Linked DNA regions of Homo sapiens: regions 1, 3 and 4 are each linked to region 2. Evidence: promoter capture Hi-C in 16 types of primary human blood cells and fetal thymus (Javierre and others, 2016). All regions are on one chromosome and are shown on one strand. Each heading gives the region's core, a stretch centred on a gene start or on the middle of the fragment in contact. The rest is flanking DNA. Distances are from core to core; before and after follow the strand shown. Region 1 has its middle 12 kb from the start of PANK3. Region 2 holds the start of CCNG1 (cyclin G1). Region 3 holds the start of NPM1 (nucleophosmin 1). Region 4 overlaps SPDL1 (spindle apparatus coiled-coil protein 1).

Region 1 (2,787 bases), core at 105-2,604, 5.2 Mb after region 2:
CTACCAAAGTGCTGGGATTACAGGTGTGAGCCACTGTGCCCGGCCCTCATAGAACTTTAATACTTTTATTTATATCATTCATCACGATGTCATTTAGTCTGACATCCTCACTCAGCTCAGAAAGCTCCCAGAGGGCGCGGCTGTCTTTTTTATTGTTTACCATTGTGTTCCTAACTTTTAACACAGTTCCTGGTACAGAGACAGTTCCGACCGAATATTTGAATAAACAAAAGAATGAATAAGCAAACCTTTCCTAACGGCTGCTACCACTAAAGATCTTAGCATGGTGTGTGTGTGCGTGTGTGTGTGTGTGTGTGTGTGTGTGTGTGTGTGGTGGGGCTATTCAGTAAGGCTAGAAGTGAAAAAGCTAGTAGAAAGCCCATGGTGATGGAGAATGGAGGAAGACTGATTAGGGAGCTCCTCAGCAGTATAAGGAAGGACTAAGAGCACATAAGGACAGGATCATAGAATTCCGCATCTCAGGATTTTTGAGGCTGCCACTGCCTTAGCTGTGAGGCCAGTGCATATAAGAATAGTTTGCACAGTTCTGCTGTGGAAATCAGGGCTTTTACTGAAAGCTTAGCCAACTAGCCAGCAAGAATAGCTTTCTGGAACTTAGAGCCTTGTGAAAATTCCCAAACTGAGGATAATTCCAAAAAAGGTTTTCTTGCTGGCTTTGAAAAGTAGGATATACTTTTTAAAACCCCTTCTTCATCTATGATACAGATTATCTGACAGTTCCTGTGCAGAAGTCCACAGAAGGCAGGAAAGAAGGGGCCAGGAGTAAATCAGGTGCCTCATATGAAGACCTCAGCTAAGGAATAAGAAGAGTAAGAAAACAGCACGTCTTCAAATAACATCATTTCCTTCAACGCCGTTTCATTATGTTGATGAGAAAAAAAAAATCTCTTCCCAGCTGGGGCCACTGTCTGTGTGGAGTCTGCACATTCTCCCCAAGTCTGCATGGATTTTCTCCAGGTACTCTGTTTTCCTCTCACTAGGATACTATCCCAAAGATGCACACCTGAGGTTAATTGGTGTGTCTGAAAGGTCCCAGTGTGAGTGAATGTGGGTGTGTGCGTGAGTGCGCTCTGCAATGGGATAACGTCCTGTCCAGGGCTAGTGCCTGCCTTGTGCCCTGAGCTGCCAGGATAGGCCCCAGCCACCCAGGACCTTGAACTGGATTAATTGGGTAAATAATTCTCTTATCTCTTTTTATTAATCTTTCCTAAATGACTGTATAGCTCACATTTGTTTCAATGTTTAACTTTTAGAAGTGTTTTCAGTCTTTATGAGAAGTTTAGTGATGATTCTGTTACCAGAACTATGCCATAGGAATTTAACTCTTGTTAGTATCAATTAGCCTATGGCCAAATTGGTTTCCTTATACATCGTTTTGCTTGAAGTTGCGTTTCCAAGATTTTATTGACAATGTTAAGTGAGGACTTACTGTACAGCGTGGGGGTCAGGTTAGAGCAATGCTATTCAAAGTGTGGTACACAGATGGCTGCTGATCCCCAGACTGCTTTTGGCTTCCAACAAGATATGGAGCAGGAGGTAAGTCAACTGCATCACTAATCATACTGTTTGTAGTTCAGCTGGTATTTTCTTCACAGTAAGACTTTCTCCATGAAGGTAGCATTGCATTGATTTACATTTTGACCCAGGCTGTCACTGCCCTAGGCTTGGACCATTAACAAATAGTTCACTGTAAAGCTGCTTTGAGCAGCTCTGGTTTGGAGCATGGGCTTTGGAATCAGTCAGAGTGGGCTCTACCACTTAAGCAAGTTCCTTAAGCTGCCTGAGTTCCCTAGTAGGACACAAGGAAGAGTGTGGATTCTATTTCAAAAGCAATTCAAAGCCACTGGGAGGTTTCAAGCCCGATCATAAAGTTTCTTGTGAACCATGTTAGAGTTTGGACTTTGTTCAAGGAAAAGGGACCCACCAAAGATTTAAAAGCAGGGGAATGTCAGGATTAGAACTGTATTTTGGAAAGTTTACTCTGGCTGTGGTAAAGATAACAGCTTAGGCGGGACAGGAGGCAAAGAAACCAGCTAAGGGAAGGCATTCTGGTGGTGGAATGAGAGAATAAATGTAAGAATGAGTGAATTCATAGCATTTACTAGATAACAAGCTTCCTTGTGGCAGGAGCCTCACCACCTTTTGCTATGGATGTTCTTCAGCACAAACTTTCAGTTTTTGTGCAAGTCAATTTTTAATTAACATTTAACTGGCAAAAATGACTAGCTAATATAAAATCAAGCTAGATTCTCTGTCCATTCTAGAGAAGTTGAGCCTTTGTGAGCAAGGCTGATCTCGCTCATGATACAGAAGTCTGTCTCTTTTACCTTGTTTACTTTTTTCCTGTTTACCTTCACAGCCACTGATCCTCAAGGTTAGCAGATGAGTAAGTTTCCAATAGCAGCTGAACTGGAGTGATTTCTATCTGGAACCAAACAAATAGCTAGACTCTGTTTGGAATTTCTGCTTCCAGAGTTATCCAGCCACAGAGCCTGTTGCACAAGGCAAACTGGCACTTGCCCAGCATGCTTAATAGAATTCTTAGTACTCTTACCTAGAAGTCCTATTCATTATTTGAGGCCATGCCAGTCAACACCAGCTCAACCAATATCAATGACCAAGTAACAATGAAGACAGCTATTTGTTGAGCACTTACTATGTAGCAGGCACTGAGCTAAGGGATTTACATGCATTTTCTGATTTTTTTTCTTGTCACACAGAATGTTTTTATTCCTGCTAATAGATTCTTTATGATTTGAGATACAT
Region 2 (3,139 bases), core at 15-2,514:
GCTTTTATTTTCAAAAGGAACAAAGGCCTCTTCCCCATTTGAGCCCCAGTTTCTTAAACTGACCTGATTATGTGGCTAAGGTATTATTGTGAGGTATTGATGTTTTCTCCTGTTTTTCCTTCCCCTTCCTCCCCACCCCTTTTCCCCCTTTCCAGAGTTTTGTTCTGTGGCATTGCCTTGGGTAAGTACACGGCAGGGCAAATAGCAGAGTGACGGCAAATCTTTCAGATTTTCACTTTTTCAAAGTAAGAGAGACCGAACTGGGGCCATGAGAACAGAGACATCCAACTACTGTGTAATTCATAAGAGTTTAGAAATGACTCCTTGTGCACCCTTTTTCAGGCCCTTTTACAAATGGACTTTTCTCACTTGTGATGATCTGGGAGAGTGAGAGTGAGGAGAGTCTAAGAAGAGTTCAGGCTAATTATTTTCCCACTAATCTGGCATAGGAGAGGCTCACAGAGATTAAATTCATTATGGTAAATACAAAGAGTAATACTGCTTTACACTCGGGTCTGTAGACTGAGATTCACACTCACCACAATTATTCCTGTTAACAGTCTGCCACATACCTTTCATTTTAAGCAACTGAAAAATTGTACCAACTTTTCTCTTTAAATTTGCTTTAAAAGCAAATTCAGAAAATTGGTAGAGGGTCAAGAAATTACACAGTCCAACTCCATTATTTGATAAATTGTATAAAAAGCAAACTAAGGCAAGAATCAACTGACTTCCAAAGTTCACGAAGAGAGCACTCTGGAAGTTGATAAACCACCAAACCATATAAATTCCACCACCTCTTTATCTGTAATTAAAAATCAAAGGTTGACTTTTTTTTTTTTAACTACTCACTGTATTTTTAGAAAGATGGGGCAGAACCACTGTAGAACTCCTAAACCCCACAGAACAAACAGTACATTCTGGAATGATACGCCGGCCAATCCGGCTGGCAGCCGATTGACCTGACCCAGGCGAGGGTTGCTGCACCGAGTATTTAGTTTGGCCCCCTACTGAATGAAGACACTTTGTTAAATTCTCCAATGAGAGACGCTTAGAGGTAGGGGCGTGGAAGGGGGCCGGGGAATTTGAGGCCAGATAACGGGAAGTGTGAGCCGATTGGCCGGACTTCTCACTCCACGGCCCAGCCGTTTACGGATCGCGGAGGCCATCCATCAAAAGAATTACACCAATCAGCGGCGAAAATGCCCCCTTCTCGCGAGAAAGCCCCGCCCTCCAATATATTCCTCGTTAGGGCAGGCGCGGCCCCTTCGGCTCCGAGCTGACCCTGATCAGGGCCGAGTTGTCTCGGCGGCGCTGCCGAGGCCTCCACCCAGGACAGTCCCCCTCCCCGGGCCTCTCTCCTCTTGCCTACGAGTCCCCTCTCCTCGTAGGCCTCTCGGATCTGATATCGTGGGGTGAGGTGAGCAGGCCCGGGGAGGGTGGTTACCGCTGAGGAGCTGCAGTCTCTGTCAAGGTGAGTGGGACTGCGCGGGAGTTGACCGCCAGGTGCGGGTGGGGAGCTGGGTTGGGGGCGCGGGGCGAGGAGTAGGTCTGGCCCGCGCCCTTTTCCACACTAAACTCTACCGCTGTTGTGAGCACAAGCCCAGGCTAGTCCGAGGCTGGAGGGGCGGAGCCGGATCCGGCCTCCTGAGGTGCCTTTCGTGTCTGCCGACCCAGTCCCAGGGACTAGCCTGGGGAGGAAGAATGGAACCCCTGCAGTTAGAGGTTCCTCACATGACTAGCTCTGAAGACCTCCTGCCTTCCTGTCTTTAGTTGGTGTGGGAGGGACCTTCCATGTATCCAGGGCTTAGCTTGTGCCCGGGACATGGTTGTGTTATGCACACTTAAATCAATGGAATTCCCAGGTTCATCTTTCAGACTAGGTTAGCAACAACCCACCGCACCCCCCCGCCCCAATACGTGCTCCTAATGTCACCTTTTAAGTTTCCTTTCCTAACAACAATAAAAGTTAAGTAATATTGAGTATTGTGTGCCAAGCACTGTGCTATACTCTTTAAGTGGTGAATCATCTTGTTCAGTCTTCACATTCAGCGACAGATATTGTTACCCTCATTTTATAAATCTAGAAAGAAGCTCAAGCTCATTATTATTGTTCAGTGTTTTTTAAGCGTCTACTGTATGTGCTAAGCTCTTTACGTGATTTCATTTTAACTCACAAATCTGTGAGGTAGGTCATAAACCTTATCCCTACTTTATCAATGTGGAACTAAGTACAATTAAGTAACTTGAACAGTTCATTTTGTTAATATGTGGCAGAATACTTAACTACCATCTGCTTTTCACTTTCGGTATCCTGTCTTACGGTGTTTATTCGTGGTTATCTATTGACAGTGAATAACTTGAACAAGTATTTCTTGAAGATTTGCATTTTATTTTTCTAAAAAGCATGGTTCCGACCGGGCGCGGTGGCTCACGCCTGTAATCCCGGCACTTTGGAAGGCCGAGGCGGGCAGATCACAAGGCCAGGAGACCGAGACCATCCTGGCCAACATGGTGAAACCCCGTCTCTACTAAAAATATAAAAATTAGCTGGGCGCGGTGGCGCATGCCTGTAATCCCAGCTCCTCGGGAGGCTGAGGCAGGAGAATCGCTTGAACCAGGGAGTCGGAGGTTGCAGTGAGCCAAGATCGTGCCACTGTACTCCAGCCTGGCAACAGAGCGAGACTCCTTCTCAAAAAAAAAAAAAAAAAGCATGGTTCCTTCCCTCTAGGAACTCAATTTAGGATGTGACCAACTTGTAGAAGGGAAATAAATAACAGATGGCACTTTGCAATGACTTAGATGCACTAGCCGCATTGGGGGATGGGAGGCTTATAAATCATTTCTTGGCCCAGTGCAAAGATGGCCAAGGAAAGCAGGAAGGACTACTCTTACACTCCTTGCTGGTCTTTTTTTCTATATATAGATGATAGAGGTACTGACAACAACTGACTCTCAGAAACTGCTACACCAGCTGAATGCCCTGTTGGAACAGGAGTCTAGATGTCAGCCAAAGGTCTGTGGTTTGAGACTAATTGAGTCTGCACACGATAATGGCCTCAGAATGACTGCAAGACTAAGGGACTTTGAAGTAAAAGATCTTCTTAGTCTAACTCAGTTCTTTGGCTTTGACACAGAG
Region 3 (2,855 bases), core at 281-2,780, 8.0 Mb after region 2:
AAAAAAAATGCTGGCTGGGTGCGGTGGCTCACGCCTGAAATCCCAGCACTTTGGAAGGCAGAGACAGGCGGATCACCCGAGGTCAGGAGTTTGAGCCCAGCCTGGAGAACACAGCGAAACCCCATCCCTCCTAAAATACAAAAATTAGTCGGGCGTGGTGGCATGCACCTGTAGTCCTCGCTACTCGGGAGCCCGGGAGGCGGAGGTTGCATCCAGCGGAGATCACGCCACTGCACTCCAGCCTGGACAACACAGCGAGACTCTGTCTCCACACACACACAAAAAAAGGCATAACAAATTTAAGTGACTCAAAGCTTTATGTGACACAGGAGCTCTCAGAAAGGAACAGTTAAATTATAACATGTCCATATTATGCGTTAGTATGTGTCCACAACTAACCCATAATATGGACATGTTATAATTTAACTGTTCATTCCTCTCTTGATAGACACTGAAATCGTCTCTATAATTTTCCTGTAAGAAATAATGCCTTGGGGTGGGGGTGTCTTCCTTTCTGAGGCTATCATTTGTATTCCTCACTTCTTAAATTTGTTTGATATGTTGAGGCTTAAAAAAAAAAGATTACGGGTCTTCAGAACGCCCCAATGCCCGCGGGGTGCTGGGGTGCCTCGGAGTTTGTCAAGGTGTAGCTTAAAACGTTAATTCCCATGCTCGCTCCCAAATATTCGAATTAAGGCTTCTGTAGTTCTTACAAGTCACCCGCTTTCTTTCAGGAGGAATGTTAAAGATTAAGAGCGGCAAGAAGTCAGAGTCGGCCCACCCTCCGAGCTCTCTTAGGGCGATGTCCTTGCTAATTTGGAGACTGATTCAGTCCCCTTTTGGCCCCCAAGTTACGTAAAGATAAGGACTTTGGAGATGTTTTCTCAGGAAGGACAGAGCTGAAAAACAAAGTTCCGTAAGTCTGGCCGGTAACTACATCTTTCCTTCCTAACAAAGAATAAGCCGCAATTCACTCTCTCTGGCACCTGAACTTTGGGGTAACGATTAACTGCGATCCGAAGCCTTCAGGCAAGTAAAAAATTCCTGAAGTGATTACGCCTGTTTGGAGGCTTGCAGGGCACTAGGGGATGGGGAAAGGTGAATCGAGGTGCTCTCTGGCTCATTCGCAGCCGGCTAACCCGCCATATCTTACACAGCTAAGGGCTGCCGACGCCATTTTGCAGGGTGGGCTGCGCAGACTCTTGGCGGGAGGCCGGCGCGCTTGAGCGGGAGAGGACGTGGAAGGGTTGGAGGTGGGGAGTGCGCGTTACGACTGGAAAGCACGCGTGCGCACAGGCGACAGCAGCGGAGGGGTGGGGCCAGTGTACGAGTGCGCGTGCTCGGTGGGAGCCCGCGGAGTACCTGGAAGGAGGTGGGGGCGAGGTAGAAAGGAGTGGGGTTGAAAAGCGCTTGCGCAGGACGGCTACGGTACGGGGGTGGGAGGGCTTCGGAGCACGCGCGCGGAGGCGGGACTTGGGAAGCGCTCGCGAGATCTTCAGGGTCTATATATAAGCGCGGGGAGCCTGCGTCCTTTCCCTGGTGTGATTCCGTCCTGCGCGGTTGTTCTCTGGAGCAGCGTTCTTTTATCTCCGTCCGCCTTCTCTCCTACCTAAGTGCGTGCCGCCACCCGATGGAAGATTCGATGGACATGGACATGAGCCCCCTGAGGCCCCAGAACTATCTTTTCGGTAACTGCTGGGGGGAGCTGGAGCGAGGCCGAGCGGGGCCTGGTGGCGGTGAGGGTGGGGGTGAGGGGCGGGAATCCGGCTGCAACCGGGTCTGGTGGAGACCGCCAGACCGACGGGAGGCCTGAGCGGGTGGGAAGAGCTGCCTGAGCCCTGGACCTGGAGGGATTGGAGCCGCGGGGGGAGCCGGTGGCGTGAAGGGGGAGGAGACGAGCGGCCTGAAGCGTCTGGGGCGTGAGCGGTCCGAGGCCCGGGGCCTGAGGTAAAGTGGAACCGGCCGCCTGGAAGTTCGGCCTTTGCCGGGGATACGTGGCGGAGCTCCAGGCGTGGTTTATTTTCTAACGGCGGTGGTTCATAGGCTTCTGATGCCAGGCCCCGGGTTGGTGGTCCTGGAGGCTGGGTTCACCGGGAAGCATGGGCCTGCTTGTTGGAGCGGGTAGATGCACAGCCTGGCGTTATTCTGGCCTCAGAGCCTGGAGCTGCCGGACGTAGACTTACCTCGCGTGCTTCGGCCAGTTACTGGGGGTGGGGAGGCGCGGCGCGGCGTGAGGAGGCCGCAACCGCTGGGAGCACGTGGTTGCCACGTGGTTGGGGGAGGGAGGGGGGTGTGGGCGCTACATCCGGGACTCACCGGCGTGTTGCCACTCGTGAGCCAGGGATGCTGTGGCTCTGTTGAAGTGGGAAATGTTAAGAGGCTGGTAGCACTAGGGTTCTGGAGGTCTTTGTTCAGTGCTTACAGCATGTACTGTGATGGCAGCTCTCATTTTTTTGAGCCCCTTTTCTGTCTCACTGCGGTAGGTGGAGCTAGCCCCACTTTGCAGATGAGGATACTGGTGCCCAGAGATAAACTCACTTAACGAAGGTTGTACTTAGTAAAGGCAATAAGAGACTAAATCTAAACCAAGACGCTTGACTCCGTAGCTGCTGCTTCGTGAATATTAATGAGGCTTCGTTTTAGGGGGACGTCCTCGCATGCCGCCATTTGTGCGGCATTGACCAAACTGCTTTTCTAAATACAAGAAACACGTAGAGTGTTCGGTTTGAGTCAGATCAAGACCTAAGACTATTCGCAGAATTTTGGGAGCACCACCCCCCTCGACTTGCGGTAGTCCTGCCCCAAAAAGGAGAGTCCCACTTGGGTTTTTGATCTCAGTAGGATTAATTGCAGAA
Region 4 (2,738 bases), core at 1-2,500, 6.2 Mb after region 2:
TTCACAGCTGCCTTTTTATATTTTATGTGTTTATAGTACCCAGACCTTCCTTTTCTGGTGGTATTATTGTTATTATCATTATTATTTCTCAAGACAGTGTCTTGCTCTGTCAGTGCCATGATCATAACTCACTGAAGCCTCTAACTCCATCAATTTTCCTTCCTTAGCCTCCCAAGTAGCTAGGACTACGGGGGCTTGCCACCATCCCCACCTTATTTCTATTGATTGATTGATTGAGATGGAGTCTTGCTATGTTGTTCAGGCTGGTCTCGAATTCCTGGCCTCAAGTAATCCTCCCCAGTTGCTGGGATTACAAGCATGAGCCACCATACCTGCTACTATGAGGTTTCTTGATTACTTTTTTGTTATTCCCTTAATTTTGATTATATGGATAGTGGTCCAATTATGAGACCAAACTTACCTTAACATATTGGAAGCTTAGCATACAACAACTGAACAGTTTTCTGATGGTGAACTGTTTAGAAGCAAAATTAAATGTATTCTATTCCACTCTTTAATTTTTGATCCCAAATCAGTAACAGAATTGTCAGAACAGTTCTTGCTCTTGGAACAAGAATGCAAATTTGACTACTTATTAGTCAGGAAGAAAATTTTAATGTTTTTATACGACAGTAGTATTGAGTAGATATGTTTCTTCTGTTATTGATATTATTGCATGGAGTTTTTTGTATAAGCTTAAGTAGTTTTATTTCCTCTATTTACAGTTGGCTAAAAAAAAGAAAAGAACATGGAGGCAGATATAATCACAAATCTTCGATGCAGGCTCAAAGAGGCTGAAGAAGAGCGACTAAAAGCTGCACAGTATGGTTTACAACTAGTAGAGAGTCAAAATGAATTACAGAATCAATTGGATAAATGTCGTAATGAAATGATGACCATGACTGAGGTAGGACTCTGGACTCCTCTGTCTGCAAGAGTGTGCTTAGCTATTGAAGATTTGTCCTGTTTAGCAATTAATAGTAGTAGTAGTTTATTCTTTTCTGAAGATTTTAGATCTAGTTCCCGCCCTGCCCCGTCCCTGTTAAAAAAGAATGAACTAAATGAATTCCTGTTATTCTTTCCACCCTAGTGTATTCAGAGTTTGAAAGATCAAGTTATCATTACTCTCTTTGCCACATTTACTACCAGATTTTGCTTTGTCTGCACACTTCCTAGAAGACCTCACTTGTTTTAGACCTCTAAACATCTAAGTGCCCCATGACACTACACCAAGCCCTTAGTTCCCCCATGAAATCTAGGTTTGTGTTCAACTGCCCACTAATAGACTTCTCAAACTTAACACAGACAGAAGAGTGGATTCCCTGTCCGTTAACCAAATATTCTTTTACGATTTTTTTTAGCTTATTTAGTAAATATAATAGCATTCAGTTTCTTGAACACCAAAAATCTTTATATACCAAAGATTTTTGGTATATTTTTGGTTTCTTTATATACCAAAAATCTAGAACTTTTAGTCAATATCTTCCCTTTATTTCTCACATTTCACTCATTAATAAGTTCTAAGAACTAGACTACAAAGCATGTATCTTTGCTACTGGCACTGTAGTCCAGATCACCATCATCACTCCTAGACAAGTATTGTAGCCTTCTGGCCGGGTTGCCTGCTTCCATTGTTGCCATTCATGCCATTCATTCTTCACTCAGCGTCTAAGTGGTCGTGGAATAACACACCAAAGGTCATGCCACAGCCCTGCTAAAAACCATACAACAGCTTCTGATTTTATTTACAACAAAATCTGAGCTCCATCCTTGGGTTTGTAGATCCCTATGTGACCTGACCCCTGCCAAGCTTCTGACCTCACCTCAAACTGCTTTGCCTTGTTCTTGACTATACTGGTCCTCCCTTATGGGCTTTACACCAGCTATTGCCTTTTTTTTTTTTTTGAGTTGTTTACCCCTCACTGCTCTTGGGTTGAGTCCTCAGATTTCAGCTTTCATTTAAATGTCACTTCAGCGGAGAGGTCAGCCCTTACTATGTAATGTAAAGTTGCCCTGATTCACTTTTTTTTTCTTTTTTCTTTTTTTTTTTTGAAACAGGGTCTCACTCTGTCGCCCAGGCTGGAGTGCAGTGGCGCAATCTTGGCTCACTGCATCCTCCACCTCCTGGGTTCAAGAGATTCTCCTACCTCAGCCTTCCGAGTAGCTCGGGGTTACAGATGTGTGCCACCACATCCGGCTAATTTTTGTGTTTTTAGTAGAGATGGGGTTTCACCATGTTGACCAGGCTGGTCTTGAACTCCTGGCTTCACGTAATCTGCCTGCCGAAGTGCTGGGATTACAGGCATGAGCCGTTGTGCCCGGCCCTGATTCCACTCTTAATTATCTGCATTGCTAATTATCTCTAGATTATAAACTCCATGAGAGAGGGAATTTTGTATGCCTTGTTCACTATCCTGAATGCCTGCCACACGATTATTTCTTAAAAGAATGAATGAATAAATCTGGGTAATTTAGCAAATGCTCAGTAACATATTTAAACTTGAATCTCAACATTGTAAATATGGCAGGTAAAAAATATCTGTAGCAGGTAAAAATAACTAGTGATGGCAACCTTTGTGTTTCTACATAGTACTGTTGTAAACCAAGAACTGAGTGCAAAGTCATAAAGGCAAAGTAAAGATTACAAATATCACTAATAGAAAATAAAACTGTTATACTTAATCATTTTGAGTCATAACTTGTCAAATTTCAGTGTTTAACAGTTAATACTCTTTGTC

Evidence for each region. Contacts are between HindIII fragments. The CHiCAGO score rates a contact against its expected background, and 5 or more counts as called.
Region 1: a contact is called between a fragment that was not itself captured here and the fragment with the promoter of CCNG1 in region 2, in 1 of 17 cell types (non-activated CD4 T cells). The highest score is 5.5, in non-activated CD4 T cells.
Region 3: a contact is called between the fragment with the promoter of NPM1 here and the fragment with the promoter of CCNG1 in region 2, in 1 of 17 cell types (non-activated CD4 T cells). The highest score is 13.6, in non-activated CD4 T cells.
Region 4: a contact is called between a fragment that was not itself captured here and the fragment with the promoter of CCNG1 in region 2, in 1 of 17 cell types (non-activated CD4 T cells). The highest score is 9.0, in non-activated CD4 T cells.

The regions. Positions count from the first base shown.
Region 1 is chr5:168,589,755-168,592,541 of GRCh38, forward strand. No RefSeq gene overlaps it. Among named protein-coding and RNA genes, the nearest start is that of PANK3, 12 kb to the left of the region's middle. The HindIII fragment of the contact is 1,556 bases long and covers 577-2,132 here.
Region 2 is chr5:163,436,331-163,439,469 of GRCh38, forward strand. It overlaps CCNG1 (cyclin G1), which reads left to right and starts at 1,265. Exons shown (of 7, transcript NM_004060.4): 1 at 1,265-1,474; 2 at 2,927-3,139. The coding sequence starts at 2,927. It also overlaps a transcript of LOC105377700 not described here. RefSeq lists enhancers at 870-919, 1,361-1,938, 1,630-1,829 and a silencer at 1,110-1,189. The HindIII fragment of the contact is 4,161 bases long and covers 1-3,139 here.
Region 3 is chr5:171,386,319-171,389,173 of GRCh38, forward strand. It overlaps NPM1 (nucleophosmin 1), which reads left to right and starts at 1,531. Exons shown (of 11, transcript NM_002520.7): 1 at 1,531-1,688. The coding sequence starts at 1,631. It overlaps MIR3912 (microRNA 3912), which reads right to left and starts at 442; the gene lies at 338-442. RefSeq lists silencers at 1,812-1,871, 2,192-2,251. The HindIII fragment of the contact is 7,200 bases long and covers 313-2,855 here.
Region 4 is chr5:169,587,669-169,590,406 of GRCh38, forward strand. SPDL1 (spindle apparatus coiled-coil protein 1) reads left to right here. Exons shown (of 12, transcript NM_017785.5): 2 at 726-907. The coding sequence starts at 749. Among named protein-coding and RNA genes, the nearest start is that of SPDL1, 5.3 kb to the left of the region's middle. The HindIII fragment of the contact is 1,115 bases long and covers 694-1,808 here.